7 separate regions of the Homo sapiens genome follow, and all the other regions are linked to region 2. The links are contacts of gene promoters, found by promoter capture Hi-C in blood cells and fetal thymus (Javierre and others, 2016). All regions are on one chromosome and are shown on one strand. The core of a region is centred on a gene start or on the middle of the fragment in contact, and the rest is flanking DNA. Distances in the headings are between cores, read along the strand shown. Region 1 overlaps GEMIN2 (gem nuclear organelle associated protein 2). Region 2 holds the start of MIS18BP1 (MIS18 binding protein 1). Region 3 has its middle 38 kb from the start of FBXO33. Region 4 overlaps LOC105370461 (a long non-coding RNA gene). Region 5 overlaps LOC105370461 (a long non-coding RNA gene). Region 6 overlaps SEC23A (SEC23 homolog A, COPII component). Region 7 overlaps LOC105370461 (a long non-coding RNA gene).

Region 1 (3,971 bases), core at 1,096-3,595, 6.1 Mb after region 2:
TAATTTTTTTGTATTTTTGGTAGAGATGAGGTTTTGCCATGTTGCCCAGGTTGGTCTGGAACTCCTGAGCTCAAGTGATCTACCTGCCAGAGCCTCCCAAAGTGCTGTGATTACAGGCATGAGCCACCTCACCTGGTCTGAATTTGTAAATTTTTAAATAAAGTATGATTTTAGTAAGTAAAATGTTAAAGACTAAAAATTTTTTACATGATAGTACTTGAAAAAACTAACTTATTAAGTATATCCAATAAAACTGTAACATTGATAAGATGACATTAATATGTTGTATACACCATTTCAAAATCTTCAGCTAAAGCTAATATTTTCAAGAATTAAGGACACTTGAATTAGAATGACATTTTTAAAACCTAATTTGATTCAATTTTTAAAAGTCTACTTTGGAGTCTGAGGCTGTGATTGCTAATTATGAAAATACCACTGATTTGTGAGAAACTTAAGAGGATATACATTAAACGCTTACTTCCTTAAGGGTTTTTTTTAACATGGTGTATTTTACTTGTATGTATTCTCTGAAAATAAGCTAAATAAGTAAGTTTTAATTCTTTATAAATTAAAAACCATTTTTGGCTAGCCATGATAGCTCATGCCTATAATCCCAGCAGGAGGATTGCCTGAGCCCAGGAGTTTCAGGCCAACCTTGCAACATGGTGAAAACTTCTCTCTACAAAAAAATTTTTTTAAAAAATTAAAAAACTTATCGCTACAAAAAATTTAAAAATTAGCTGGGTGTGGTGGTGGGTGCCTGCTGCCCCTGGTATGTTGAAGGCTGACGTGGGAGGATTGCTTGAGCCCAGGAGGTTGAAGCTGTAATGAGCTATGAGTGCACTACTGCACTCCAGCCTGGATGACGGAAGAAGACCCTGTCTCAAAAAAAAAAAAAAAAAAAAAAAAAAAAAATATATATATATATATATATATAGCTATTTTTGAAATGTAGCATATGTTAAGGATATCATCCAAAAGATCAATTGGTTATATAGAAAGAGTACCAAATTAACTTCCCTAAGATTTGAGTCTATTTATACTCCTGTACCACGTCTAAGAGTGCTTGTTTCCCCAGCTCTTGTCAATATGGTGTATCAAACTTTCTTGGCCAATATGTTACCTGAAAAATAGCACCTTGGCATAGTTATGTTATACTTCTATTACAAGTGATTTTTGGCATCTTGTCATATAAGAATAATTTTATTTCCTTTCTGTGAGGTATCTATATCCTTTGGCTATTTTTTCTTGGGCAGGGGAGGGGTGATTCTTGGTCTTTTTATTGATTCTTGGGGCTTTTTACATTTTTAGGAAAAATTAGTTTTAAATGTGAAAAACACAATGTGGCACCATATAGCAAATAATAAATACCTGTTGAACTGAAAAGAACTACATGCTATAGGGAGTAAGCGCTAATGCAGAGGCATGCACTGGATTCTCAAGGAACACCTGCAAACTTGGGGGCAGGTAAATCCTGAAGGACAAGGAGTTGTCTACATAACTTATGATTACAGCCACATGAATTTTAAAGATATCCTCAACATTTCATCTTTAGAATATGTGATTTATTTTTTACAGGCCCATGAAGTGATAGATGTGATTATGCATTTTAAAGCATCTAATTGTGTCGATTTCCATTTTTTCCCTGGCTACTCATAACACTGTTTGCCTGATGCCTCATCATTTAAAAAAACTATGAATCTTATCCAACTCATAAAATGATTACCAAGCCAAACATAAGGGATATGAAGCCAAACTAAAAAAAGTCACAGTAAATTGTTTCAGAAACTAAGCTGTTTTGTTAGGTTGAAGAGCTAATAAACTAAGTCTGGGTTGGCAAACATTTTCTATCAAGAGTCAGACAGCAAATATTTTAGGCTTTGCAGGCCACATAAAGTCTCAGCCACATATTATTTGTTTCTTTTTTACTCTTTCAAAACCTAAAAACAATCCTTAGCTCATGGATATAAAAAAGGCCATGAACTGGACTTGGCCCAGGGTAGAGTTTGCTGACCCCTTATATTAAGTGGTGCACCAAAATTAAAATGCTTTTTGTTCTGTTTATCCACACAGCCCTTACTTGTACATAATCTATTCCAGGACTTTCATTTGTGGCTGGTCCAACAGCCCCGTCAGCACATAACTTTTCACCCAGACAAAATTTCTTCCAGCCTTCTTCATCTTCAGATTTTGGCTAAAAGAAAAAAAAAAAAACTGATTTATTCCTGTGTATTAATTTTTACACTGAACAGTAAAAAAAAAGAAGTTAAGTCCTTCCATATTCCCATTACCGCAACCCAAAGATACGGAGCCAGTTATGGGGAGAATCTCTGCCCCCAAATTTGTATGTTAAAACCTTAAACTCCAGTACCTCAGAATGTGACTGTATTTGGAGACAGGGCCTTTAAAGAAGTGATTAATTTAAATTGAGGCCATTAGGGTGAGCCGTAATCCAATCTTACTAGTGTCCTTATAAGAGGAAATTTGGATTCACAAAGAGACACCAGGGACTCCCACACACAGAGGAAAGACCACGTGAGAAAACAGGGAGAAGGTGGCCCTATGCAAGCCAAGGAGAAAAGCCTCAGAAGAGACCAACCTTAGGCCGGGTGCGGTGGTTCACGCCTGTAATCCCAGCACTTTGGGAGGCCGAGGCAGGCGATCACATGAAGTCAGGAGTTCAAGACCAGCCTGGCCAACATGGCAAAACCCCACCTCTACTAAAAATACAAAAAAAAAAAAAATTAGCCGGATGTGGTGGTGCACACCTGTAATCCCAGCTACCCAGAGGCTGAGGCAGGAGAATCACTCGAGCCTGGGAGGCGGAGGCTGCAGTGAGCAGAGATTGCGTCATTGCACTCTAGCCTGGGCAACAAGAGCGAAACTCTGCCTCAAAAAACAAACAAACAAACAAAAAGAGACCAACCTTGCTGCCACCTTGTTCTTTGACTTTCAGCCTTCAAGACTGAGAAAATAAATACATTTCTGTTGTTTAATCCACCTAGTCTGTTATGGCAGCCCTGACAAACATAGTGCCTAAGTGGCTACACAATATGTGGGACATGTTGTTTTTCCTTATTATTACATTTTTTGAGACAGGGTCTTGCTCTGTCGCCCAAGTTGGAGTGCAGAGGTGTGATTACAGTTCATTGCAGCCTGAATCTCGGGCTCAAATAATTCTGCCACCTCAGCCTCTTGAGTAGCTGGGACTACAGGCATGTGCCACCATGCCTGATAATTTTTAAATTTTTTTTGTAGAGATAGTTGTCTCACTATGTTGCCCAGGCTGGTCTCAAACTCCTGGCCTCAAGCAATTCTTCTGCTTTGGCTTCCCAAAGTGCTGGGATTACAAGTGTGAGCCACTGTGCCCAGCCAAGATGTGTTTAGTTTGGACAAGACTTTAGTGGACACTGACAGACAATGGTGTGTCCAAAAGAGGATGATAAAGACAGAAATAAGTATGGGGGAAAAAATGCACCAAGAACACTTAATAGAATGAAGGATATTTATCCCATGTAAAGAGACATGATTACATATTTCACATATTTGAAGGGTTGTCCAGTCAAAGAAGAAACAGATCTACTCATGCTGCCAGACAGAAAAAGCAGGACGCAGGACTATTTGGGAGAAGCATTCAGCTCAATATAACCTCCTTAACAAAATAACCTTTGTTTGTACATATCACCTTGTATATTACTTTGCATAGGTGCATTTTCCCCCTAGGGATAAGTAGCTTTCATTAAATCCTTAGGATGAATCACCTGAGGTCAGGAGTTCGAGACTAGCCTGGAAATATGGTGAAACCCCGTCTCTACTAAAAATACAAAAATTAGCTGGGTGTGGTGGCAGGCACCTGTAATCCCAGCTACTTGGGAGGCTGAGGCAGGAGAATTGCTTGAATCCAAGAGACAGAGGTTGCAGTGAGCCAAGATTGTGCCACTGCACTCCAGACTGGGCAACAAGAGCAA
Region 2 (3,686 bases), core at 533-3,032:
ATTCACATTGGGACATACTACATACTACTTCCTTCTTACATGAGAAGTGGCTAATTTAAAAAAAGTGTGCATTTCTGAGTGCCTGCTGTTAATACTTCAGGGTTCCTATTTTGTCTAAATGTGTGAGCCACGGCCATCTTCATCAGGCACAGAAACGTCCTATACCTCAATTTCAGGTGCTTTAAAATCTGAATGACCATCCCTTCAAACTTCCTCTATCAAAGTATATTTCATACATGCCATTTAACCTGTTTTAAGGTGGGTTTTTCCCAAAAAAGTAGTGCAAATCCATGTCCAACCATTTTCTCATTATGGTGTACAAGAAAGAAACTTCATTTTATCCAGGTAAGTTTGCTTCCTTTCCCCCTACCTCCAACTGTTTTTCCTTATTTGCATTCACGTGGATGTTTTAAATTTATATTTTGGATTTTGATTATTCAGTGTGTACAAAATTTAGTACATGCAGGATTTAGAAGGGACTGCAAAAGTCACTTTAAAAAAAAATTACCACCTTTTCAGTAAAGCCTCTTAATGGGGAAATGTGGTATGTGACTAGAAGTTGACTAATTTTCTTAGATGGAAGTATAAAATAAAAAGAAGCTCTGTTGTCACAAATGCGGATGGGGGGAAGAGGACAGACTTCATGCAGGACTGGAGTTGGACAGGGTTCAGGGCTGAGAACACACCTTACTACCCTGGCTTCCCCTTCTCTACTTTCAAGACTGAACCAATGTGCCCTATACAAGGCGAAGAATACACCCGGTCACTCCGCGGTGGTTAGAGTGGAGATTCACTGGGTGCAGTCTAAAGCGGGACGCAGTCTGGGGGCCACCGTCACAAGCTGCTTACAGCAACCTAGAGTTGTCGAGATTAATGTTTCTGGAATGTGAAGTGACTTAAAAAAAAATTAATCACTTCCTGGCTCGGTGCGGTTGCCTGTAATCCTGGCACTTTGGGAGGCCGAGATGGAGGATCGCTTGAACCCAGGAGTTCCAGACTAGGCTGGGCAACATGGTGAGACCTCCTCTCTACAAAATAAAAATAAGCCAAGCATGGTCGCGCGCGCCTGTAGTTCCAGCTACTCGGAGGCTGAGGTGGGAAGATCCCTTGGAGTTCCAGACTGCAGTGAGCCGTTATTGCGCCACTGCACTCAGGCCTAGGCGACAGAGCGAAACCCTGTCCCCCACGCCCAAAAAATCGTATTTCCTGAGGGAACAGTTCCAACTAAACATCCCACTTTGTGCGTAACTTTACATTCAATCCATCATCACCTCAAGAACAAAATGTTCTTTCTCCGCCTCAAACATGGAGGACAGAAAAACAGAAGTTCTCTCAAACCCACCAAGCACGCTGTTTTCCTGAGACGGAAAAGAAGGATAACAGCCGCTACGGCGCACAGCCTGTAGGGGAGGACGGCAACCAGGAAAGGCCAAACTTAGCCGCAGTAGTGCCGGGGCGTGCTCGCGGCCCACGGCGTCCCACGTCGTCCCACGTCAGCCTTGTCCCGGCAGAGCTTCACGAGAGGAAAGGCGGGATTCAGGGTGGGCGCGTGCCCTACGAAGACGAAACGAACTTTGAAGACAACTAGAGGAGCTCGCCCCCTGCCTGTGACAGCTTAGGGTCGCCTACTTTTTGTGGACACACTGCCGTCCACGGAGTGCAGAGGCCGCCTGCAGTTTTCTTGCGTCCCTGTGAGACGCACGGTGGCGCAATTCCCGAGCGTGCCAATCCCGGGCTGGCTGGAGGGCGGGCTCTTCAAATTTGAATTGCGGAAGTGTTTTGTGTGTTAGAGAACGTCGCGGAGGAGGTAAGCGTCGCTTGGCGCCTGGCCGCCGCGGGCAGGATACACCGTGGGCCTGAGGCGCGAGCCCGGCGGCGTGCGGCCCTCTCTCCGCGCGGAGCCGAGCCGGAACTGCGGCAGTCTCTCCCTGCCAGGCTCTTCATCCAAGGTACGTCCTCCCCGCGCCCTCCGCTAACCTCCTACCGCGGGTCCCCGCAGATGGTGGGCGTCTGCCCTTTAAGCATCTCGGCTCACGCGGTTTTATTTATTTTTTTTGTAGATTTCTGGCTTTGGTACGGATTTTATACTTCGCACTCGATGTTTACTTGTTGCGTGTCTACTGTACTTAAGAGAGTAGAACACGATTGCTCAAATTTATTTCGATGGTGAGCGTTCTAGGTCTTTGTTCTAAAATAAATTTTTTTTTTTTTTTTTTAGAATACCAAGTGGGAAAATTGTATTCCTCAGTACCCAACTCTTCCCCTTGGGACCCCAGGACCCACAGGGCTATAGAAGCAGTTGATCATTCAGCTTATGTTTTCTTCTGGTTAAATTGCATGCTTGTTGCAAACATCTTTAGATGTTAATAAAATTATTTAGAAAATGGTCGGGCGCGGTGGCACACGCCTGTGATCCCACACTTTGGGAGGCCGAGGCGGGTGGATCTTTTGAGCTCAGGAGTTCAAGAAAATGGTAGGCCACTTCATCCTGGCCTTCAAAGATAAACACTGTTTACAATTTGGTTCACCGCTTCCAGAGTTTTTCTCTATGCCTGTATGTGTTTTATTTATTTACTTAAAAATTTTTTTAAACAAATGCAATTCTATGTTGTTACTTTCTTTTTCAATTTAATGTTTCTTGGATACTTTTCCATATAAGTACATATATATCTTTTTATTGAATACATAGAGTAAATTGTATGGATGTGGCGGGATTTATTTTGTCCTTTATTGGTAGACATCTGGGTTGTTTCATTTCATTTTATGCTGCAGTGAACTTCCCTGTGTAGTGGGTGTGTAGACTGTTGCCTGTTGGTAAATAACTGAAGCTATGGAGTCGGGTAGAATCGGTTCCTCTTTCTCACTTATTGTCAAGTGACCTTGGGCAGCTTACTTAACCACCTTATACCTTAATTTCTCTTTTTTCAAATTGGGAGTAATAACAGTACTTAACTCTTTAGAGTTGCTGTTAGATTATATAGTGGCTGGCATGTAAATATTCAGTAAATATCGGCAATTATGGTACATATATATTTGCATTCTTACGCAGATGTTTCTATAGGAAAAAACAAGTTAGAAGTGGAATTTCCGTGTCAATAGTATGCATACTTGCATTTTGAAATTAATATTTACCAATGTGATATGAAAAAGAAATCTCACTGTTTTAGTTTGCATCTCCATTTATTAGTAAAATCAGGTGTCACAACTCGTTTATTGGCCTTTTGTATTCTATTAATCACCTTTCATGTCCCATGACCATTTTCTGTTTTGTATATTTTTTAAAGTTGATTTATTAGGTCTCTTTGAATGTTATTTAAATTAGCCCTTTGTCATATGTGCTGAGTATTTTTTTCAAGTGTATCATTTGCCTGTTAACTTAAAATTCTATTTTCCCCCTAATTCTATGTCCCAGTTTTGGTTAGTGTGCTCTGGGATTTTTGACCCATTCCATAGTAATAGTTATTACTACTACCACTACAGTAAATTCTTACAAGAACTTTCCATGTTTTTTGGGAGGAGGAGGAGGAGTAGTTACATTCAGGATCATATACATAATTGTTTAGCTTCAGTTCTGTATTTATATATGTCACTTGTAACTGACTGGGATACGTTCTGAGAAATACATTCTCAGGTAATTTTTGTCATTGTGCCAATATCATAGAGTGTACTTATAAAAACCCAGGCTA
Region 3 (4,292 bases), core at 1,535-4,034, 5.9 Mb after region 2:
AGCTTTGGTTTCCTCATCTCTAAAATGAAGGATTGGTCTTGGCTAGCTAAAACTCCGATTCTTCATTGAAATTTTCCATTGCTGTTAGCTCAGTAGCTCACAGATACACAAGATCATCTTTAAACCAAGGTATTAAATATTTTCAAAACATAGCTTATTAAACTATATGAAATTTACATATCTATCTAAAATTACTTTCCATTTCCCCACCACAAAGATGCAGAAATTGAACACAAAGATGGGGAAACTTGCTTGGGACTTAGAGCATGAGTCATATTGGATCCTTATGAAGCCAGTAACATAACACAGTGCTAATGGAGTAACACAGCAGATGTGAATAATACCCAGGGACCATACCACATTGTATCAATGTTTCCCAACCTTTGTCATGTTGTAGCACACATAGAAAATATTGTACAGCATACTGGTATAAACCAGAAAGAATTAGAGAAAAAAATTACTTTTTTTAAATTATATAATTGATGAAAAAATGTAGAAGATTTGAGGAAAAATACTGAATTTGTATGGAACTTTCAAATAAAATCTTGCCAGATGTTTTAATTGATTTAATTGACATTTGATTAAAATGTTTTAATACTGTCACCAATGAGAAACACCCCACAAACAGGTAATAATTTTTAGGTCTTTTTTAAAAATAACCATTCGTTAATTTATGCAGTTGAAACTAAGAAATTTAACGCTTCCTTCTTTGGGAAATAATGTTGTGAGTTAAGTTCAAATTCAAATTGATGTTTATTACAATTATTTTAAAATCATGATGCTCTAATTTGTAATCTCCCTTACATAATCCTACTGCTAGGTGAGACACCACTGAAGAGTAAACAGCCACCAACTTTATATATATGTGAAGGCAATTAGAGGCTGCAGGGAGCCCTCCTCCCACCTCCAGCTCCCAACCCTTTCAAATCCAACTAGCCACACCTGGGGGCCTCACACTTGGGCTTCCTTCCTGCTCTTTGGACACCTGGAACGTATTTCTTTCACAGCTTTGTAGACGCCCCCCCCCCCCCCCCCCCCCACCCTTTTCTGTGATGGACAGTGACTCATCTGGCTAGGAATAGTGAGTATCTGAGTTTGCTCTCTGTCCAGGGCCTACTTTCAGAATCAGCTCCACTCCCACTGCTCAGAAGAGCCTGAAAGCATCAGAAGGCAACCAACCCAGGCTCCAGCCACCCCAGGACTCATTAGGTGTCCTTGCAGGGTATCACCCCTGGTACAGTATACTAATTAATTTGGTTTGCTGGTTGTGGAAAGAAACGGATGATGTATTATGAGTAAGTTTTCAGGATACTTGAATCATCCTTTCTGAAAGATTTTTTTAAAAGGGCAAGATATACCATGTGTTGGCAAGGAAGAGGAAACACAGGTGGAACTTGAACTGATATATCCATTTTGGAAAGCAAACTTGCAATATCTTGTAAAGTTGAAGTTGCCTGTGCCCTGTAACCCAGATTTTTCACTTTTAGATGTATTCTCTAATCCCATGTTTTCTAACTTGTTTTCCTAGCCCCTAAAAATGTACCCCTTTGCATATTTTTAAGTTAAACATGTAACATTGGTCATAATCTTAGCAGATATAAACATCAGCAGTTTAAAGTAAATTACATACATGACTTCTTAAAATATGTATAATGGAATCTAAATGCTATAGTAATTTAGTACTTACCATCTTTTTTTTTTTTTTTTTTTTTTGGACAGAGTCTCACTCTGTCACCCAGGCTGGAGTGCAGTGGTGCGATCTCAGCTCACTGCACCTTCCATCTCCTGGGCCTACCAAGTAGCTGGGACTACAGGCCTATGCCACCAAGCCCAGCTAATTTTTGTATTTTTTTTAGTAGAGTTGGGGTTTCATCATGTTGGCCAGGCTGGTCTTGAACTCCTGACCTCATGCGATCCTCCCACCTTGGCCTCCCAAAGTGCTGGCATTACACGCATGAGCTACTGCACCCAGCCTACTTACCAACTGTTTTTAAAATGCAATTCACTCACTCTTGATCACTAGAAATTTTGTCATTCATTTTCCTCCTTAAGCTTGTATATTGTCAGTTATCAGTTTATTTGCCTTTTAGCTCTGAATGAATCCTTCAATATATACTCTCTCATAATGAAAAACAAAAAACATTCACACCCTCTTCACAAGAGTGCTTACCTATGAGGCAGGCATGAGGACAAGGATCAGTGTGGATGGGCATGAAGGTAATTTTATCTGTAATGGGGCATTCATTATATTATTTTGTTATTTCCTATTTTAAAAAATAATTTGTAATTTACTGATCCAAGTTACAAACAAATGAATGTTCATGGACTGACTTGTTTCATAATGCTGAGTCTAAAGTCAACTGTTGTAGTCCATTTTGTGCTATTACAGAAGATCTGAAACTGGGTAATTTAGAAAGAATATTAATAATTGATTTCTCACAGTTCTGGAGGCTGGGAGGCCCAAGATAAAGACACCAACAGGTTTGGTGTCAGGTAAGGGCCCTATCTCCACCTCCAAGATGGCACCTTGAATGCAACATCCTCCGAAGCAACAGTGTAATCTCACATGGCAGAAAGAGAGCTAATCTACTTTTGTAAGCACTTTTTATAAGGGCAATAATACATTCATGAGGGTGAAGCCCTCATGACCTAAATAAACTTCTCCCATAAGACCCCACTTTCCAACTCTGTTGTATTGGGGACTAAACTGTGAATTTTGGAGGGGACACATTCAAACCATAGCAGTGACCAAGGCAGGAGGACAGAGTATTGCTTTCTATCCTTTCATGCATTACTGAATCACAGTAACTTGAAAGAGGCTCAAAGATCTACTGAGAGCTTAAGACCTAGTTGTTTGTAGGAAAGTTCTGAATAGATTTTTCAAAATATGTCACTGTGTGGGGGAAAAGGGGAGATACTGGTCAAAGGGTACAAACTTTCAATTATAAAATTCTGGAGATTTAATATACAGTATGGTGACTACTGTTAATAATGTATATTTGAAATTTGCTAAGAGAGTAGATCTCAGGTGTTCTCACCACACCAAAAATGGTAACTATGTGAAGTGATGGATATTTTAATTAGCTTGAGTATTGTAATCATTTCAGTATATATATATATGAAAACACATTGTGTACCTTAAATATATGCAAGTTTTGCCAATCACACCTCAGTAAAGCTGCAAAATGGCACTGTAATTGACTCTACCATATTTCAGTTTAAAGCACTATTGTCATTAGATTAATACTTATTTAATGTGGACATTATATCCAACAACCTCAGCTATTTGAAGTGTAGCCAAGGATCCAGAAATAAGTATAAAAGACTCGTGGAGCTGGATTAGTCCCTGACTAATGGGTAAAGGTGTCACACTCAGAAGAGCCATTTCCAATTCCTGCTAGCTCACTTTGTCTTATTTTCAGCATAATTCTAATAAACCTGTTCATCAGGTTTCTCAGTCTACAGTGGGTTAGAAAGGGAAAGGAAGGGGGTGACTGTGAAAGGCATGCAAGCTTACACATGTGAAAGCAAGAGCATAATCAGTCTTAGGCCATTTTGGAGTTTGAAACAGACTTCAACACCCCTATAACAAACCTGAACTACAGGGCAATGGTAAGTATTTGTAATGAACTTGAATCAATATGAAAATTACACTGTGTTCAGAATATTGGCATAAATTAATGGAGCATTTAATACATTTTGGAAATATTTCTACTGAAGATGGCTAAAATAATACTATATATTTAAAAGACTAGCCTTTAGCTAAAAAATACACACTTAAGGCCGGGCGTGGTGGCTCAGCCTATAATCCCAGCACTTTGGGAGGCCGAGGCAGGCGGATCACCTGAGGTCAGGAGTTGGAGGCCAGCCTGGCCAACATGGCAAAACCTCATCTCTACTAAAAGTACAAAAATTAGTCGGGCGTGGTGGCGGGCAACTGTAATCCCAGCTACTCAGGAGGATGAGGCAGGAGAAGCTTGAACCCAGCAGGGGGAGGTTGCAGTGAGCCGAGATCGCACCACTGCAAAAAAAAAAAAAAAATCACTTAAGTAAATTCTCTGAGAAACAATGTTGATAAATAGACTAAGAAATACCATAACTTATATGTATTAAATATTTACTGTGTGCAAAGCACTGTTTTGAGCATTTGACAAACAAGTATTTTGTCATTTAATTCTCACAGCAACCCTGGAGTAGATATCATTTCATTTCACATATAAGGAAATAGGCATAGAAAAATTAACAATTGTGTCTAAGTTGTAAAACCAGTAAGAGTTTGGGTAGAATTTAAA
Region 4 (4,128 bases), core at 1,450-3,949, 5.8 Mb after region 2:
AAGAGCAAGAGGGAGGGAAGAGGAGGGAAAAGGGAGGTAAAGAAAAGAAGAAAGAGGTAGAGTGAAGAAGGAATGGAGAAGAGAGAAAAAAATTGAAATTACAGGGCTGAGCAGGGAAAAAGAGGAGCCAACTAGATAGAGAAAGGCTGACAAAAAGAAATTCAGTAAAATTCCATAGTGGTGGGTGGCCAAGGAACATTTTGAGACAAGAGAGGCTGCCTGATCCATTAGAGGTTGTTTTGTTGCTGCTGTATACACTCTGCTGCTATCCTTTCCTCAAATCTTCACTAAAGGCACTTAAAATCATGAATGTTTTATGTGAATGGGCTTTTAGTGGACATCAAGCAGGGAACTTAGTTTTGTTTCTGGGTCAGTGCCGTGCAGAAATCTTGAGAAGGATTTCTGACTCCCACAGGCCTTGGAAGGGGAGGTGTCCAAGTCAATTTTATGTAGATCTTTCAGGATGAATGAGAAGCAGGGGAGGAATGAGACAGCAGCTTATTCAAGGAAAAGCTGCCCTGCAGAGAAAAAATTTCAAAACCACTTTTTCTTATCCATTTTTAACCCAGAAGACCCTCATTATCAGGACTGGAAAATCAGGAAAGTCATTTTCATCCTTACATCGGTCTTTTTTTAATGAGGTTACACTGCCACCTACTGGTATTGGTTAAAAAAAAACCTTTTATTATAATTTTAAACTTCGTGATTCTTTGGAAGCCTTTATCTTTTATTTACTGACAAATTCTTCCCTTGTATGGGAACACAAATTTGCATAAGATGAGTTCTTTGCCAGCGAAATTTTATCCTCTAATAGTAATCTAATGAAGATAACTTGTAGCCCTTCAGAATTCAGACACCATTTCAACAGTAAAACCTTCCTTTATAGAGGTTTCCCATCCTTCTTAACCAGAATTGACAACTCTCTTTTTTGGGCACATACACTATCCATTGTACTTAGTTGATTACTTGATTATACTGTCTCCCATAACTAGACCATAAACTCCTAAGATTCAGGGACTACATCTTTTCTGCATTTATATTCCTAGCACCTGGAACAGAACCTGCACATAGATGACTAATAAATATATAATAAATATATAATATTAATAAATATATAATAATATATAAAAATAAATATATATATAATAAATGAATAAATGATTGATGATCAAAAAGTATAAACAAAGCAAACATCACTTTATATAAACTTTTATTAATAAAAAATTTTAAATAAACATTTCAATTCCAAATATACACATTATGTAATTCCTTGTCTATGGAGTGGCTTTTACCTTGCCCAATATTACATTTTACAAAATTCGTATAGATGAAATCAGAATAAAGAAGATATGTGAAGTTAGATTTTCCCATTAGCATATAATTCATAAACTCTTAATTACCATGAGATAATCTAAAACAAGATATTCTTAAGAGAATCAACTAAGGAAAATTTAGCATAAATAAATTTTATTTATTTAATAATGAGTCAGCATTGCTGAGGGACAAACCTGAGATTTGTAGTACTGAAATTATTCATATCACTTACATAATCCAGAATCATGAAGAGGGTTGAGTCTGAGATTTGAGATCCTCATATTGATTCTAGGGAACCTTAAGGCACCCAGGCCTCTCTTTAGAAACTGATTACGCTATAGGGAGAAGACACTCAGACCTTAACCAAGTCTCCTATCTGAATTTAAACAAGAATGTCTAAAGCACTCTCTTTAAAGCACTCTCTCTAAAGGAACCTCCAGGGAGCATGGCCACTCACTTTGAGTCAATAAAGGATCAAAGAAGTGTGGGCAGTAAGGAGCCACACCTTGTGACATGGCCCTGTTTCACCATGCAATTTTCACAGGGGTCTGCACACACACATTCTTAGCCAATAAGCCGGACACCTCTTGTACTGAGCAAAATCGGATGTGAATTCTTCTATTTTCCTCCCACTTGCTTCAGATTTCCTATTTTCCATCCATTCTTATTTTCTTATCTTCCTTTCTAAGGCTGATCTCATCCCTTCCCAGTCAAGTTCTGAGACCTAAATTCATAAACCATCTTCTTCTTCAGTCTTCCTCATTTTCCTCTCCACCAGTTCCTCCCTACATACCAATACACCAAGTCTCTTCTGTCTTGGAGGCAAAAAAAAAAAAAAAAAAAAATCCTCCGTGAGTCTTTTGCTCTGAAGAGTCAGGTGGCATATCCTAATTCTTCTTCCCTTCACTTCAATCTTCATAAAAGACTTCACCTGCTGCAATTCTCTTCTCCCTTTTATGGCACAATTCCTTGAAACTGAATTTCCCAGGTTCATGTCTTGGTACCACTTTCCCTGAAATTACCAATAACCTTCAAGTTGCCAATTCCGTTACTCCTGCTCAACTTCTGAAGCTTTATGCAACAGTGATCACCTCTGTCTACTGATGCATGCTTGCCCCAATTTTACACTCCCAACCTCTGCACACTTCTCTTGAATAGTTCTCACTTTCCTTCCCTAGAGCCTCTTTTGCCTTCTGCCTCTAAAATAGAAAGTAGAAGATGTACTAAACACTTTAGTCCTCATCTTGTTCTCACTTGACATGTTCTTCCTTAGGGATTTCATCTATTATTTTTGTCCTTCCTCCTTTCATTGATTTAACAGAGGTCTATTATTAGCCAATGATGTGACAGGTACTTTTCCTGGAGCTTGTTATTCAGCAATGAACAAGAATTACAAGATCCCCATTATCATGAGCTTATATTCTAGTGTGTGTATGTGTTAGAGGAAGGAGGGCGGCCAGTGATAGATACTAAACAAATTAAAAGGCAAATAACCAAGAAAGTATCAAAATAACTTTGCACCTGAGCCTATGAGTTTAGCTTTCCCAAGGTGGGCAAATGTCAGCCCTAGAGTATCTTGCTAGGGAGCTTGCCAGGTGAGACTTCTGTGTGGAAGTGAAGATGGAGGCTCAGAGTGAGCCACCCAGCCTGAGCTGACTCCAGCTCATATCCAGAGGGCTCCCCAATACCAGAAGCTTTGTCAACCAGCAGCATCACTAGGCTCTGACCAAACTGTGGGAGAAGCAATCCAAATGCTGAGAGAGAGCAGCAGCAGCCAGCAAACAAAGGACATCGCCATGGCAACCAGAGGAGCCTTGGGATAATATGCAAATCTGGGAATCCTGCCTTCCTTAAGCTGTAACATCATAGAAGCCACCCCAGCACCACATACTTAGATGTTGTCTTAGGAAGAGAAGCTATCTGAGACCCTGAGCAATTATTCCAAGACACTAAGCATTATTGAAACGAAATGTTTAAATTCTTACATAAGACTAAGCTTTAAACCTGATTAAATCCATTTTCTTGTGTTAGCTGTTGTTTATCTGTTTGTTCCCCCATGATCCTAATCCCCCAGTACTCAGCAGGTTGAAGATTATAATGGGTATATTAGAGAGGCGACAACAATCTTTTCTCCCATATTTCTCAGTTATAAAATGGGTAGGATTATGACACAGCTATGTGTTTGTCTTTAATTCTGACTCCTTTCTTGAGTTTTGTACCAGCATTTCTAATAGTCTGCTGGTCTAAAATAAAATTTGTGTCTCCAACCTACAGAGCAACTTTTTCCTAAATCTTTTGTCTCAATTAAAATTAATTTCTGCATGATGGTTTTAGTTGTCTCCCTAACAGAATAGGTTCCTTTTTCCATTCTGACATACACATTCTCTTTTGATTGTCAAATTATTAATGTTATTTATCTCTCACTGTTTTACTTCTTCTGAGAAAACCAGAATCATGATATTGTAAAAACCAGAGATGATTCTACAAAGGCTGTGAATGTCCCTCATTTGCAATCTTATTGGACCCAATCTTTTTTTCATTGTCATTGCCTTGCTGCTGAAACAACAGATGCACCCTCTCTCTAGGCCCAGAGACTATGGGGGAAAAGGTGGGTGTGTGAGATTGTAAGGGCCAGTTTTGAGGGACAGAATTAGTTCAGACTCTCCAAATCAAGGACAGGCACACAGATTGCCTAAAGAGCTGGCAAATTTTTGAGAGACTTTTCCTCCTGAGCCATCTTGTGGTCCCTTTCCATCCATCCAACCATAAAGAATTTCCTGCTTTCCATAGAAGTAAATGAGAATTACTAAGAGA
Region 5 (4,103 bases), core at 556-3,055, 5.8 Mb after region 2:
TTGAGGTCCAGGTATGGATGAACTTCTTGGGTACAGTTCCTCAAATACAGCCCCTTACGTACAGTTCCTTGTAATCTCAAGAGCTATAAACTAAAAAAGAAAAATTATCTGCCTTAACAAACACCAAATGCACAATGGTGGAGCAAGTACAGGATAACTGCTATAGACACTCCCAAAAAAAAGGAGGAAAGGAGAGACACAGAAGTCATTGGTCCATTAAAAGCTTGAAATCAAGCTGGGCAAAAGGTACTGGTACTTGATTAGGGCTCAGTTGTACTGTTTAAGAATGATTCACTGTGACTCTTGGCTCTCCACTCTGGGCTATTGGTTCTACCCTCTAAATTATTTTTTTTTCATAAAAAATAGCCATGTTCTTAGCATGCTTCCCATATGCAGAAGTTTGGGGTCAAAGGCATCTTTTCATTTTGTACTGTCTCTATGCCTTTCAGTATAAAACGATACAATCCTTTAAAAAAATTGTGTGGATCAAGAGAGAGAAAAGAAAAGCCACTGACTGGAAAAAGTATATGCAAAAGACACATCTGATAAAGCACTGTTACCTAAATATATAAAGAATTCTTTTTTTTTCCATTTTTCCCTCTGAACTTTTATTATAAAAAATTTCAAACATACAGCAAAATTGAAAGATTTCAGTGAACACCTGTATACGCACTACCTGAATTCTATCATTAACTTCTTTTAGCATTTAGAACCTTCTAAATCCTCTCCCTTGTTCCATTTTTAAATTTTTAAAATTGAGTTGAAATTTACACAATGTAAAAGTAATCATTTAAAGTGAACAATAAAGTGACATTTACAATTAGTCATTCACAATATGGTACAACCACTATCTCTATCTAGTTCTAAAATGTTTTCATCACCTCAAAATAAAACTCTATAACTATTATGCAGTTAATCCCATTCTTCCTTCCCCCTAGTCCCTGGCAACCATTGATCTCCTTTCTTTTTTATTATATTTTAAGTTTTAGGATACATGTGCACAACGTGCAGGTTTGTTACATATGTATACATGTGCCATGTTAGAGTGCTGCACCCATTAACTCGTCATTTACATTAGGTGTATCTCCTAATGCTTTCCCTCCCCCCTCCTCCGACCCCACGACAGGCCCCGGTGTGTGATGTTCCCCTTCCTGTGTCCAAGTGTTCTCATTGTTCAGTTCCCACCTATGAGTGAGAACGTGCGGTGTTGGTTTTTGGTCCTTGCGATAGTTTGCTGAGAATGATGGTTTCCAGCTTCATCCATGTCCCTACAAAGGACATGAACTCATCATTTTTATGGCTGCATAGTATTCCATGGTGTATATGTGCCACATTTTCTTAATCCAGTCTATCATTGTTGGATATTTGGGTTGGTTCCAAGTCTTTGCTATTGTGAATAGTGCCACATAAACATATGTGTGCATGTATCTTTATAGCAGCATGATTTATAATCCTTTGGGTATATACCCAGTAATGGGATAGCTGAGTCAAATGGTATTTCTAGTTCTAGATCCCTGAGGAATTGCCACACTGTCTTCCACAATGGTTGAACCAGTTTACAGACCCACCAACAGTGTAAAAGTGTTCCTATTTCTCCACATCCTCTCCAGCACCTGTTGTTTCCTGACTTTTTAATGATCACCATTCTAACTGGTGTGAGATGGTATCTCATCGTGGTTTTCATTTGCATTTCTCTGATGGCCAGTGATTATGAGCATTTTTTCATGTGTTTGTTGGCTGCATAAATGTCTTCTTTTGAGAAGTGTCTGTTCATATCCTTTGCCCACTTGCTGATGGGGTTGTTAGTTTTTTTCTTGTAAATTTGTTTGAGTTCTTTGTAGATTCTAGATATTAGGCCTTTGTCAGATGAGTAGATTGCAAAAATTTTCTCCCATTCTGTAGGTTGCCTGCTCACTCTGATGGTAGTTTCTTTTGCTGTGCAGAAGCTCTTTAGTTTAATTAGATCCCATACAAAGAATTCTTAAAATTCAACAATAAGAAAATGAATTCCCCAGTCAAAAAGCAGACAAAAGATATGAAGACACCTCATTAAAGATATACAAATGAAAAATAAGCATATGAAAAGACGTTCCATATCACATGTCCTTAGGAAACTGCAAATTAAAACAGCAATGAGATACTACTATACACCTATTAGAATGGCAAAAATCCAACACATTGCCAAGACCAAATGATGGTGAAGATGTGGAGAAACAGGAACTGTCATTCATTGCTGGTGGAAATGCAAAATTGCACAGTCACTTTGGAAGACAGTTTGGCAATTTCTTACACAACTAAACACACTCTTACCACATGATCCAGTAATTGCAAGCTCCTTGGTATATGCCCAAATGAGTTGAAAACTTACGTCTACACAAAAACCTGCATGTAGATGTTTATGGCAGCTTCATTCATAATTGCCAAACCCTGAGAACAACCAGGGTTGTCCAGTAGAGGAACAGATAAACAAACTCTGGTACATCCAGAGTTTGGAATATTATTCAGTGCTAAGAAGGAACGAGCTGTTAAGCCACAAAAAGACATGGAAGAAACAAATGTATATTACCACATGAACTACATGATATTTTGGAAAATGCAAAGCTGTAAGAGTTAGTAAAAAGATTTGTGGTTGTCATGGATATGAAGGTAAGGATAAATAGGCAGAGCACAGAGGATCTGGAGGGCAGTGGAACTACCTTATATGATACTATAATGAAGGATATGTGTCATTATACATTTGTCAAAACATATTGGTGTATTAATAGAATATACAACACCAAGAGTGAACCCTAATGTCAACTATTGACTTTGGGTGAGAATGATGTACCAAGGTAGGTTCATTGATGGTAAAAAAAAAAAAAAAAAAAAAAAAGTACCACTCTGGTCAGGGATATTGATAGTGTGGGAAATTTTAGGGAGAGAGGGGAATGGGGAGAATATAGGAACTTTCTACTTTCAGCTTAATTTTGTGTAAACTAAAACTGCTCTAAAAAAAATTTGCAACAAAAAACTGTGTGGATTTCTTGTTTATAATCCACTCCATTAGACAAAACCTGTACCCACAAATCTCTTCAAGATAAGTCCTAGAGCTTCCTATAAGGGTGCCGAGGGACAATGCTCTTAAAATTCTCAAAGGACTTTTTCTTTAATAAAGAGGATCTGTAAGGTATGTCATGTCCTTAAGATAATTAGAGAGACTACTGTCTGTGTGAGGCATGACATTAAATTTCCTGAGGTATTAGAACTAAGATTTTACAATCACTCCCTTGGCTTCATGATAAACCATGTTTTAATGACAGTACCCTAGATTTGCTCTCCTTCCATAAAGAATCTTCTTAATTTTAGAATTCTCTGCCGTCAGGAAAAACTGGAAAAGAGAAAGCTTTATTTTCAAGTCCAAGAAGTTCTGGCTCCTTTATATTTAACAATTATTTCTTTAGCTTACCTCTCTCCTATCATTTTACTATAAGCAGCAAGAAGAAGCCAGACAATCACCATTTTCTGCTTTTCACATTACCACAGGTGATAAGGTGGCCAAACTTCATGTCATTACCTAACAATGATCCTCTTTCCTCCAGCTCCAATGATATTTTTTCACTCTCCTCTAAACCCTCTCTGATAGCCTCCTTGAGGTCCATCAGCCTTCCACAGTCACCTGAAGGCCCTCTCACCTTCTGCCCTCTGTCTAGTCCTGCCTAATCCTGTCTAGTCTAGCTTCAGCCACTACCACATTTTAGATTTCTGTTACATGGCACTCACTTCCAGATAACAAAATCTGTTTTTATGATTGCATAACAAGTTCCTCCAAAATTTAGTGGCTTAAAACAACAATATTTATTTTTGTCAGGTATTTGCAATTTGGACAGGGCTCAGTGAGAATAATTCCTTTTTTTGCTCCACTCAGCATCGACTGGGGAAGCTTGAAGGCTGGAGACTAGAATCATCTGAAGGTTCATTCATATACCTGGTGGTTGAGTCTGGCTATTAGTTGAAACCTTAGCTGGGGCTATAAGCTGGAACATCTTCACTGGCCCCTCCATGTGGCCTGAGATTCCTCACAATTTCCAACAAGTCATGAAGTCACAGAGTGTTAATTCTTCAGC
Region 6 (4,135 bases), core at 1-2,500, 6.2 Mb after region 2:
CCAGGAGTTTTAAAAGATTTAATTATTATTATTGTAAATTATTTTTAATTGATACCAGTTTCTAATGCCCTTTACTTGTTAAGAATAATACCTGTTTTAACTTCTTGCCTTTGTTAAAAAAAAAAAAAAAACCTGTAATACTGACAGGGCTTTTTTTTTTTTTTTTTTTTTTTTTGCTTTTTCTTTGTTTTATGGTGATTTTTACTTTTTCAAGTAGCTTGTTAAAGGAGAAATCAGAAATGCACATGATTGTTTTATACAGAGGTATAAAGCTATAAAAGAATGTGTTGACTGATTCAGCTAACTTAGAAAATAAACCAGGCATAAGTTTTTAGATGATTTAATTACATGGTGTTTAGAGCTACTTACCTATGGATTGATTCAATTGCTTTCACGTATCATAAGCTTAGGTAGATAGCTTTTAGCTAACATTCATTTGATAAGCATAGTGTTTTAAAAATTTTCTGACTTATGTAAGTATTCTTTCATTTTACTTTTAAAGGAGAAGAAATATTCTAATTTTATATTTATTAAGAATATTTTCTCTACTGAAATTGTAACTTTTAAAAAATTGAGGTAAATGGAATAATGGTCTATAATTTTTTTAGTTTCTAAAGATTATTTTCTTTGGAAAAATCTCAAGATTTTTGGATGGGCAAGAAATTTAAAGTAATTTCTTTAATTGTTTTAAAATTAGACCATAGCACAGTGGCGGAAGTCAGGATACCAGGATATGCCTGAGTATGAAAATTTCCGCCACCTTCTGCAAGCCCCAGTGGATGATGCACAGGAAATTCTTCACTCCAGATTTCCAATGCCAAGATACATTGACACTGAACATGGAGGCAGCCAGGTAAGTAGTGTTAATTTGTTTGTGTGTTTGTTTGTTGTTAGGTTTGCAGTGAGGTGTACCTGCTTGCCTTCTGATTTTAATAGATTGCTTCATAAAGCAGACAGAAAGGTAAGGAGATAGGTGGGGAAGGTATCAGTGCTTACTTTTTGCATTAGCTTTTGAGAGCAAAACAGTAAGATTATTGACTAGTTGCCTAAACCTGGCACTTTCCATCATCTTCTGTCTCTAGCCTAGCTTCCTGAACAGGGCCAGGATGGCATTGTGGTGGTATACTAGCTTTGGTTGAACAAGAAAATGTGAACAGCTTGGAAAGTAATATACTTTTCTTAAAGCCGTTTATTTACTGTTAAAGTCTATGAATATGACATTTGTGGTAACTTACATTTTTTCATTGTCTTCATTCTATCATTCCAATTTTCTAGAAAATAAAATTTTATGTAATAGGAAAACACTGTAGTATTATGAAAAGGTTTTGTGGCTTTTAGGATTTTGAGGATACATATACGTTAGATACATATACATACATACACAGTTGCTTTGAGACCTTCAGAAGGCTAAGTTAGGTTCCTTAACATACTCTCATAAAATACTTCTTACTTCTCTTTTGTAATTCTTATAAGAGTTATAATAAATTAATTATAAGTTGTTATTAATTTGTTTTACATGCTCTTTGAAGGCAGGGACTATGCTTTGTATTCCCTAGTGCCTAGTACGGTATTATAAAATAGGTAGCAAATATCAGTAACTGTTATTCAGAAATGATAATTACTATTAGTTTTACTGTATTTATATGAGAGTTATTTCATATTGAGAATTTGCAAAGTACTTCTGCATGCCTTATCTCATTTGATCCTCATAAGAATTCTAGTGTTATTTTCATTTAACAGATAATAAAACTGAGATCTAGGTTACTTATGGCCAAGGGAACACAGTAAATACAGGAGTGGGATTTGAGTCCTGGTACTCCAGGGCCAGTGCTCTTCACTGTTAGGTTAAACTGATTCCTTAGAGAGTAGAAAAAGATTTTGTATGATACTAAATTTCAAAAGATGTTACTGTCTATGTGCTTCCATTATGAGTTAAAAATCTTACTGGTTCTTTCATTGATGTCTCACTGTGTGTATTACCATTTTCCTCTTTTATTCTGGTTATTATTTTCATGATGATAAGCCATAGTGGGTAGAAGGATAAAATGTTGGATCACTTGTCTCATAGAATCACCTGTGGTTTAAGAAAGCTTAAGGGTCATTATTTTAAGCAAAAGAACATACAGATTTTCATGGCTTTTGTTTTTATCATTATTTGGGATTTTGAACTTCTGACCAAGTGTTTAGTAATTTCACACCAACCTTGTCATAATTGTTGCACACATAATTTTTATATGCTGAGTTTTGGACTCAACAATGTATTTGTTATTTTGGATGTATGATTTGGAGAGAAGAGGTGCATTTATTATTTATTTGTAACACTTAGTGACCTATACATTTCAAAGTTTAATCTTTTAAAAATTAAGTTAATAAAATTAATTTTACCAACACATACTAAATAAAATTGATTTTGCATGATATAATTATTCAGCTGATATTGACTGAAACCATTTTTGATGGATAATGTTATTTCTTCTTTGCTTTTAAGGCCCGTTTCCTCCTTTCAAAAGTCAACCCTTCACAGACTCATAATAATATGTATGCCTGGGGGCAGGTAAGTTTAAATAGCAGGTCTTGGAAATTATTTCTTTGTGTATTTATTGTTTATTATTTTAGTGAAAGCTACATTTTTTTCCTGTGTATTTAGTAATGGTTTCTGTTGGAAAAGTAATGTAAAAATGAGAGTAGAAAACAGAATTAATATTTGGCGACACCATAGGACAAAAGTGATCCTATCAAATAGACTCCAAGTTTAGCACTATACCCTTGAGACAAAAAGCAATGAAGTGTGTAAGACAGGAAGTGGTGACTCCAGTTTAATGCTAGGTTGTGAACCACAAAAGGCCACGATAAGCCAAGAGAGGCCAGGGATCATAGTTGAGAAGGAGGGGCAGGAACCCTGCAAATCATTATTGATATAGTTTAATTTGGTAAAAGTCCTGCTGGGTGTGGTGGCTCATGCCTGTAATCCCAGCTGCTCAAGAGGCTGAGGCAGGAGGATCACTTGAGGCCAGGAGTTTGAGACCAGCCTGGGCAACATAGCAAGACTCCATCTCTTAAAAAAAAAAAGTGTTAACCTCTTGGTATAACATATCAACATTTATTGAGTGTCCAGTATGTTTAGGACTTTGTATTGGCTCTTTAGGGTGCAGTTATTACCCATGCCTTTGGAGAGCTTGTAGTCTAATATTAGAGATAAAATACATACCTAAGTAAATTACAAGGCAGAATGGGATATTTGTCCTTAGAAAGCTATGAAGTATTACAAAGGTTAGAAGAGGAAGATGGCAAGAGGTCACATAGTGGTAGCAGGAAGAGGGTGTGTAATCAGAAAAGAGCTCAGAAAAAAGAAACATTTCATTTAAAGAATGGTTATTTCAGTAATTGGAAATTGCATGAGGAAGGGAAATCTAGGTAGAGAATAGTATGGGCTAAGATAAAAGACTACATGCAGAGCTGACTAGAAGAACATAAAACGGAAATGTGTTGTACAAGTAAATTGTGGAGGATCTTGAATGTCAGGTTGAGGAGTGAGAAGTTGAGTATTTATTTGGTAAGTAATGGAGAGTCATTGAAGGTGGACAGAGGGCAGATTTGAGTCTTAGTATAGTTGAATCTTAAGATTAAATGGAAGCAGTCTGTAGGTTGAAAGTATATTTACGAAAATAATCCAAGTGAGAGGGAGTAAAGGCAAGATGGTGAAAGGAATAGATTTGGGAGATATTTTAAAAGTAGACTCAATAGGACTTGATTAGAAGTTGCAGGAAAGTAATTATTCCAGGGCATGGCAACTATGCACAAAATCTGAATTCTGATTGAATCCTGGATTAAAGGGAGAGAATAGCTATAAAGAACATAATTGGGATAATTTGTGAGATTTGAATATAGATCATATATCAGATAACTAGTACAGAATTATTAAATTTCTTGAGAGTGATAATGGTGTGGTTATGTAGGAGATTCTTCTTGATCTTAGGAGATACATCCTGAAGTATTTAGGAATAAAATGTCATGATGGCTTCAACTTCCAGAAGTTATTCAACAAAAAGAAGAAAAAAGGAAAAATAATGTAGAAACATAAAGCATACGTGGCAAAATGTTAACAGTCAGTGAATGTAGGTATGCTATATGGGTG
Region 7 (3,677 bases), core at 123-2,622, 5.8 Mb after region 2:
GCCTTTCAGATAAGGATTTCAAGTGGATATGTATGGAGGACAGAAACAAAAAGAATGTCTCCCATAAACTGACAAGTGAAGAGCACTATTCCCAATACCAAAAACTGTTTATACCTGAAAACAAGCTTATATGAAATTTAAATAGAACTTGATGGCATGAAAAAATATTTTTAATTTGGATTCAGGCAGCTCTAGAAGGAGTTGATGGAGCTCTATTTCAATATTTCAACACTGACATGACTCAGTTATTTATCTGTGCTTTACTGGGTTTTGCTCTTATAAGCAACGGCCTATCTTGCTGTAACTTCTGTTTAAAAACAAACCAAAACTAGCCAGGCATGGTGGCTCATGCTTGTAATCCCAGCACTTTTGGGAGGCTGAGGCAGGTGGATCACTTGAGGGCAGGAGTTTGAAACCAGTTTAGCCAACATGGCAAAACCCCATCTCTACTAAAAATACAAAAATTAGCCAGGCATGGTGCCGCATACCTGTAATCCCAGCTACTCGGGAGGCTCAGGCAGGAGAATCGCTTGAACCTGGGAGGCAGAGGCTGCAGTGAGCCGAGATCACACCACTGCACTTCAGACTGGGTGACAGAGCAAGACTCTGTCTCAAAAACAAACAAACGAAAAAAAAAAACTAAACTAAAAGAAAGAATCTCAGAAAGGAGATTCAGCCAGGTGCAGTAGCTCACACCACTTTGGGAGGCCATGGCAAGAGGATCACTTGAGCCCAGGAGTTTGAGACCAGCCTGGGAAACATAGTGGGACACCATCTCTACAAAACAAAAACAAAAACAAAAAACAATAATAAAAAATCAGCCAGGGCCGGGCGTGGTGGCTCACATCTGTAATTCCAGCACTTTGGGAGGCCAAGGTGGGTGGATCACTAGCCTGGCCAACATGGTGAAACCTGGTCTCCACTAAAAATACAAAAAAATTAGCCAGGTGTGGTGGCAGGCACCTGTAATCCCAGCTACTTGGGAGGCTGAGGCAAGAGAATCGCTTGAACCCAGGAGGCGGAGGTTGTGGTGAATCGAGATCGTGCCATTGCACTCCAGCCTGTGCAACAAGAGTGAAACTTCATCTCAAAAAAAAAAAAATCAGCCAGGTGTGGTGGTGCACACATATATTCCCAGCTACTGAGAAGGCTGAGGCAGGAGGATCGCTTAAGCCCAGGAAGTCAAAGGTGCAGTGAGCCATGATGGCATTACTGCACTCCAGCCTGGGTGACAGAGTGAGACCCTGTCTCAAAAACAAGAAAAATAAAAAGAAATATCTAATTGACCAGCAAATGGCCACTTCTATGTAGGCAATGTCTTCATTGCATCTTCCGGTAGGCCACTGGCCTGGGTACAGTTAGAGTGAAAGAGCACTTGACCCAACAATCACCAATTAGCTATAAACAAGCTGGCAAAGTCACATGGCACTACACAGAGCCACCATATGCAAGGAACTGGCTAGAACTGCTTCCCTGGCAATGACTGTGGCCATAGCTAGTTTCACACAGATGGAGCAGCATCCTTTCTTTAGAAATCCAGGCACTAATATGCTTTGTTCTCAGCTCTGGGCCCTCAGCCCAAAATCACAGGGAATGGGAAAAGCTCTACTTCTCAACTTGCTACATTAGGCTACTTTGAAATTTACATTTTTTATTATTCATTTTAGTAGCTCGACTTAGGAGCCTTTTTTAAATGGTACTCTAGGTAAATTTTTGAATTATTTTTTATTTTTTTTGTATTTTTTCATTATTCATTTTTATATTTTTTATTATTCATTTTAGTAGTTCTACTTAGTAGCCTTTTTTAATGGAACACTTTAGGTAAAATTTTGAAGACAGTTGGACAACAGAAATCCTTATGTTCTTTTGATGTATACAGTAGTTTCTTTCAAAATTGTCCCCAGAGAAATTCCAATATACCCAAAAGGACTCACATTCTACTTCACAAAAAATAAAAAGTTCTCTATGCTATCCAAAAGGAAAAGAAAAAAACAAGATTTTTTTCTTTGTTTAAAATGTTTGAAGGTCTTCCAGCTACAAAAGTTAAGCGTTTGGACTAGTTCATTAGAATTTTGTGTTAACAACCTATCTCAGGCATGAACAAATAACATTTTCGCTACTGGCAAAAAGACAGGCAGAAAAATAAAGACAATTGTGTTTGGGTTGTGGTCTGGGTGGGTGAAGGTGAGGGAAAAATGAGAACACCGCACACTATGAAACTAGCCACCTGCTACAAAGCCCAGCAGTATCTATATTAAACTAAATATAATTTCATATTGGTGTCTCCAAATCTAATTCAGTACCACATGGTTCATTCTATCCTCTTGCTTTTCTGCAACCTTCTTCTCCAATAGTGAGAAACTTGGCTCCCATCAATCACCAAATGTATGGTAATACATTTACTTATTTGTCAGTTTCCAGTATACACGTACAGCAGTTTCAGAATTGCTAACCAATACCCCTGTGAGAAACAACTTTACCAGCTGCAGCATTTATGTACACTTTTGTCTTTAATCTTACAGTTTCTAGTTAAAACACTGTTTTCCAAAAATTATTCAGGTCAGCACCTTTTCCCCCATCCCTTTAGTGAAGTTATATCACATATCTGAAACAAGCTTGTTAGGTTCTTTTGTCACCATTGCATTCCCCTCCGGGATCCCTAACTCTTGGTTGATTGATTTTTTTACTTGCACATATTAAGCTCTTTATGCTATAAAGTTCTATCAGTTTTTTCAAATGCATAGTATATGTCCACCACTACAGTTTACTTTTAACTCTACAACTCCCCCATTCTTTCCCCCAAGTGAAAACTCCCCTTTCCTCAAATCCCTAGCAACCACTGATTGGTTTTCCAGTCTTAAATTTGGCCCTTTCTAGAATGCCATATGAATGGAATCATTCAATATGATGTAGCCTTTTCAGTCTGGCTTCAATAACTTGGGAAAATGCATTTAAGACGCATCCATGTTGTAGCATCAATTGCTTATCATTGAATAATAACCCATTGCATGGATGTACCACCGTTTATGCATTCACCTACTGAAGAACTTCTTGGTTGCTTCTAGTTTTTGATGATTATGAACAAAGCTGACAACTATGATTAAAGCACGTGTATGGATTTACATTTTCAAACCAATTTGGTAAATACCTAAAGGTGCTTTTGCTGGGTCATGTGGTAAGTCTGTGTTTAACTTTAATAAGACACTGCTAAACCATCTTCCAAAGTAGCAAGTATGAGATAACCAGCATTTAGTATTGTCAGGTTTTTTTTTTCTCTTAACCAATCTAACAGGTATGTCAGTAATATCTTGCTGTTTCAATTTCCTTAATGACAAATAATGTTGAGAATCTTTTTATAGATGGTTATTTGCCATCCATAAGTCTTTTTTGCCATCCATAAGTCTTTTTGAAGCAGTTGTTCAGATCATTTGTCCATTTTTTTACAAGTGGCTGTTTCCTTAATTTTTTTCTTATATTTTGGATATCCATTCTTTAAGAGATATGTGATTTGAAAATGTTTTCTCCCAGATATAACCTGTGTTTTCATTCTCTCAACAGAATCTTTTGTAGAGCAAAAGTCTTCAGTTTTGGTAAGTCCAATTAATCAATTTTTTCTTCCATGGATCATAAAAGGACTGTCTCCGAGAAGAGAGTGAGTTCTTACAACCAAGTGTGAC

Evidence for each region. The method cuts DNA at HindIII sites, captures the fragments that hold promoters and counts their contacts. A CHiCAGO score of 5 or more calls a contact.
Region 1: a contact is called between a fragment that was not itself captured here and the fragment with the promoter of MIS18BP1 in region 2, in 11 of 17 cell types (naive CD8 T cells, total CD4 T cells, non-activated CD4 T cells and 8 more). The highest score is 15.4, in naive CD8 T cells.
Region 3: a contact is called between a fragment that was not itself captured here and the fragment with the promoter of MIS18BP1 in region 2, in 2 of 17 cell types (total CD4 T cells and naive CD8 T cells). The highest score is 14.5, in total CD4 T cells.
Region 4: a contact is called between a fragment that was not itself captured here and the fragment with the promoter of MIS18BP1 in region 2, in 7 of 17 cell types (naive CD8 T cells, total CD4 T cells, activated CD4 T cells and 4 more). The highest score is 14.0, in naive CD8 T cells.
Region 5: a contact is called between a fragment that was not itself captured here and the fragment with the promoter of MIS18BP1 in region 2, in 7 of 17 cell types (naive CD8 T cells, total CD4 T cells, neutrophils and 4 more). The highest score is 10.1, in naive CD8 T cells.
Region 6: a contact is called between a fragment that was not itself captured here and the fragment with the promoter of MIS18BP1 in region 2, in 8 of 17 cell types (total B cells, total CD8 T cells, non-activated CD4 T cells and 5 more). The highest score is 7.2, in total B cells.
Region 7: a contact is called between a fragment that was not itself captured here and the fragment with the promoter of MIS18BP1 in region 2, in 7 of 17 cell types (naive CD8 T cells, total CD4 T cells, activated CD4 T cells and 4 more). The highest score is 18.7, in naive CD8 T cells.

Annotation. Positions count from the first base shown.
Region 1 is chr14:39,120,656-39,124,626 of GRCh38, reverse strand. GEMIN2 (gem nuclear organelle associated protein 2) reads right to left here. Exons shown (of 10, transcript NM_003616.3): 5 at 2,084-2,197. Among named protein-coding and RNA genes, the nearest start is that of GEMIN2, 8.3 kb to the right of the region's middle. The HindIII fragment of the contact is 5,325 bases long and covers 1-3,971 here.
Region 2 is chr14:45,251,298-45,254,983 of GRCh38, reverse strand. It overlaps MIS18BP1 (MIS18 binding protein 1), which reads left to right and starts at 1,782. Exons shown (of 17, transcript NM_018353.5): 1 at 1,782-1,949. It overlaps LOC107984674 (a long non-coding RNA gene), which reads right to left and starts at 1,693. Exons shown (of 4, transcript XR_001750746.2): 1 at 1,343-1,693. RefSeq lists enhancers at 1,134-1,193, 1,264-1,453, 615-1,564, 1,474-1,653, 1,754-1,813 and 1 more. The HindIII fragment of the contact is 13,340 bases long and covers 1-3,686 here.
Region 3 is chr14:39,392,646-39,396,937 of GRCh38, reverse strand. No RefSeq gene overlaps it. Among named protein-coding and RNA genes, the nearest start is that of FBXO33, 38 kb to the left of the region's middle. The HindIII fragment of the contact is 1,460 bases long and covers 2,055-3,514 here.
Region 4 is chr14:39,487,747-39,491,874 of GRCh38, reverse strand. All of the region lies in intron 2 of LOC105370461 (a long non-coding RNA gene), which reads right to left. The region is part of intron 2 of LOC105370460 (a long non-coding RNA gene); the gene reads right to left. The region is part of intron 2 of LOC112267899 (a long non-coding RNA gene); the gene reads right to left. Among named protein-coding and RNA genes, the nearest start is that of FBXO33, 57 kb to the right of the region's middle. The HindIII fragment of the contact is 623 bases long and covers 2,388-3,010 here.
Region 5 is chr14:39,470,451-39,474,553 of GRCh38, reverse strand. All of the region lies in intron 2 of LOC105370461 (a long non-coding RNA gene), which reads right to left. Among named protein-coding and RNA genes, the nearest start is that of FBXO33, 40 kb to the right of the region's middle. The HindIII fragment of the contact is 3,159 bases long and covers 226-3,384 here.
Region 6 is chr14:39,037,450-39,041,584 of GRCh38, reverse strand. It overlaps SEC23A (SEC23 homolog A, COPII component), which reads left to right. Exons shown (of 20, transcript NM_006364.4): 18 at 698-853; 19 at 2,489-2,554. Among named protein-coding and RNA genes, the nearest start is that of SEC23A-AS1, 64 kb to the left of the region's middle. The HindIII fragment of the contact is 1,685 bases long and covers 408-2,092 here.
Region 7 is chr14:39,450,713-39,454,389 of GRCh38, reverse strand. The region is part of intron 1 of LOC105370461 (a long non-coding RNA gene); the gene reads right to left. Among named protein-coding and RNA genes, the nearest start is that of FBXO33, 20 kb to the right of the region's middle. The HindIII fragment of the contact is 2,490 bases long and covers 128-2,617 here.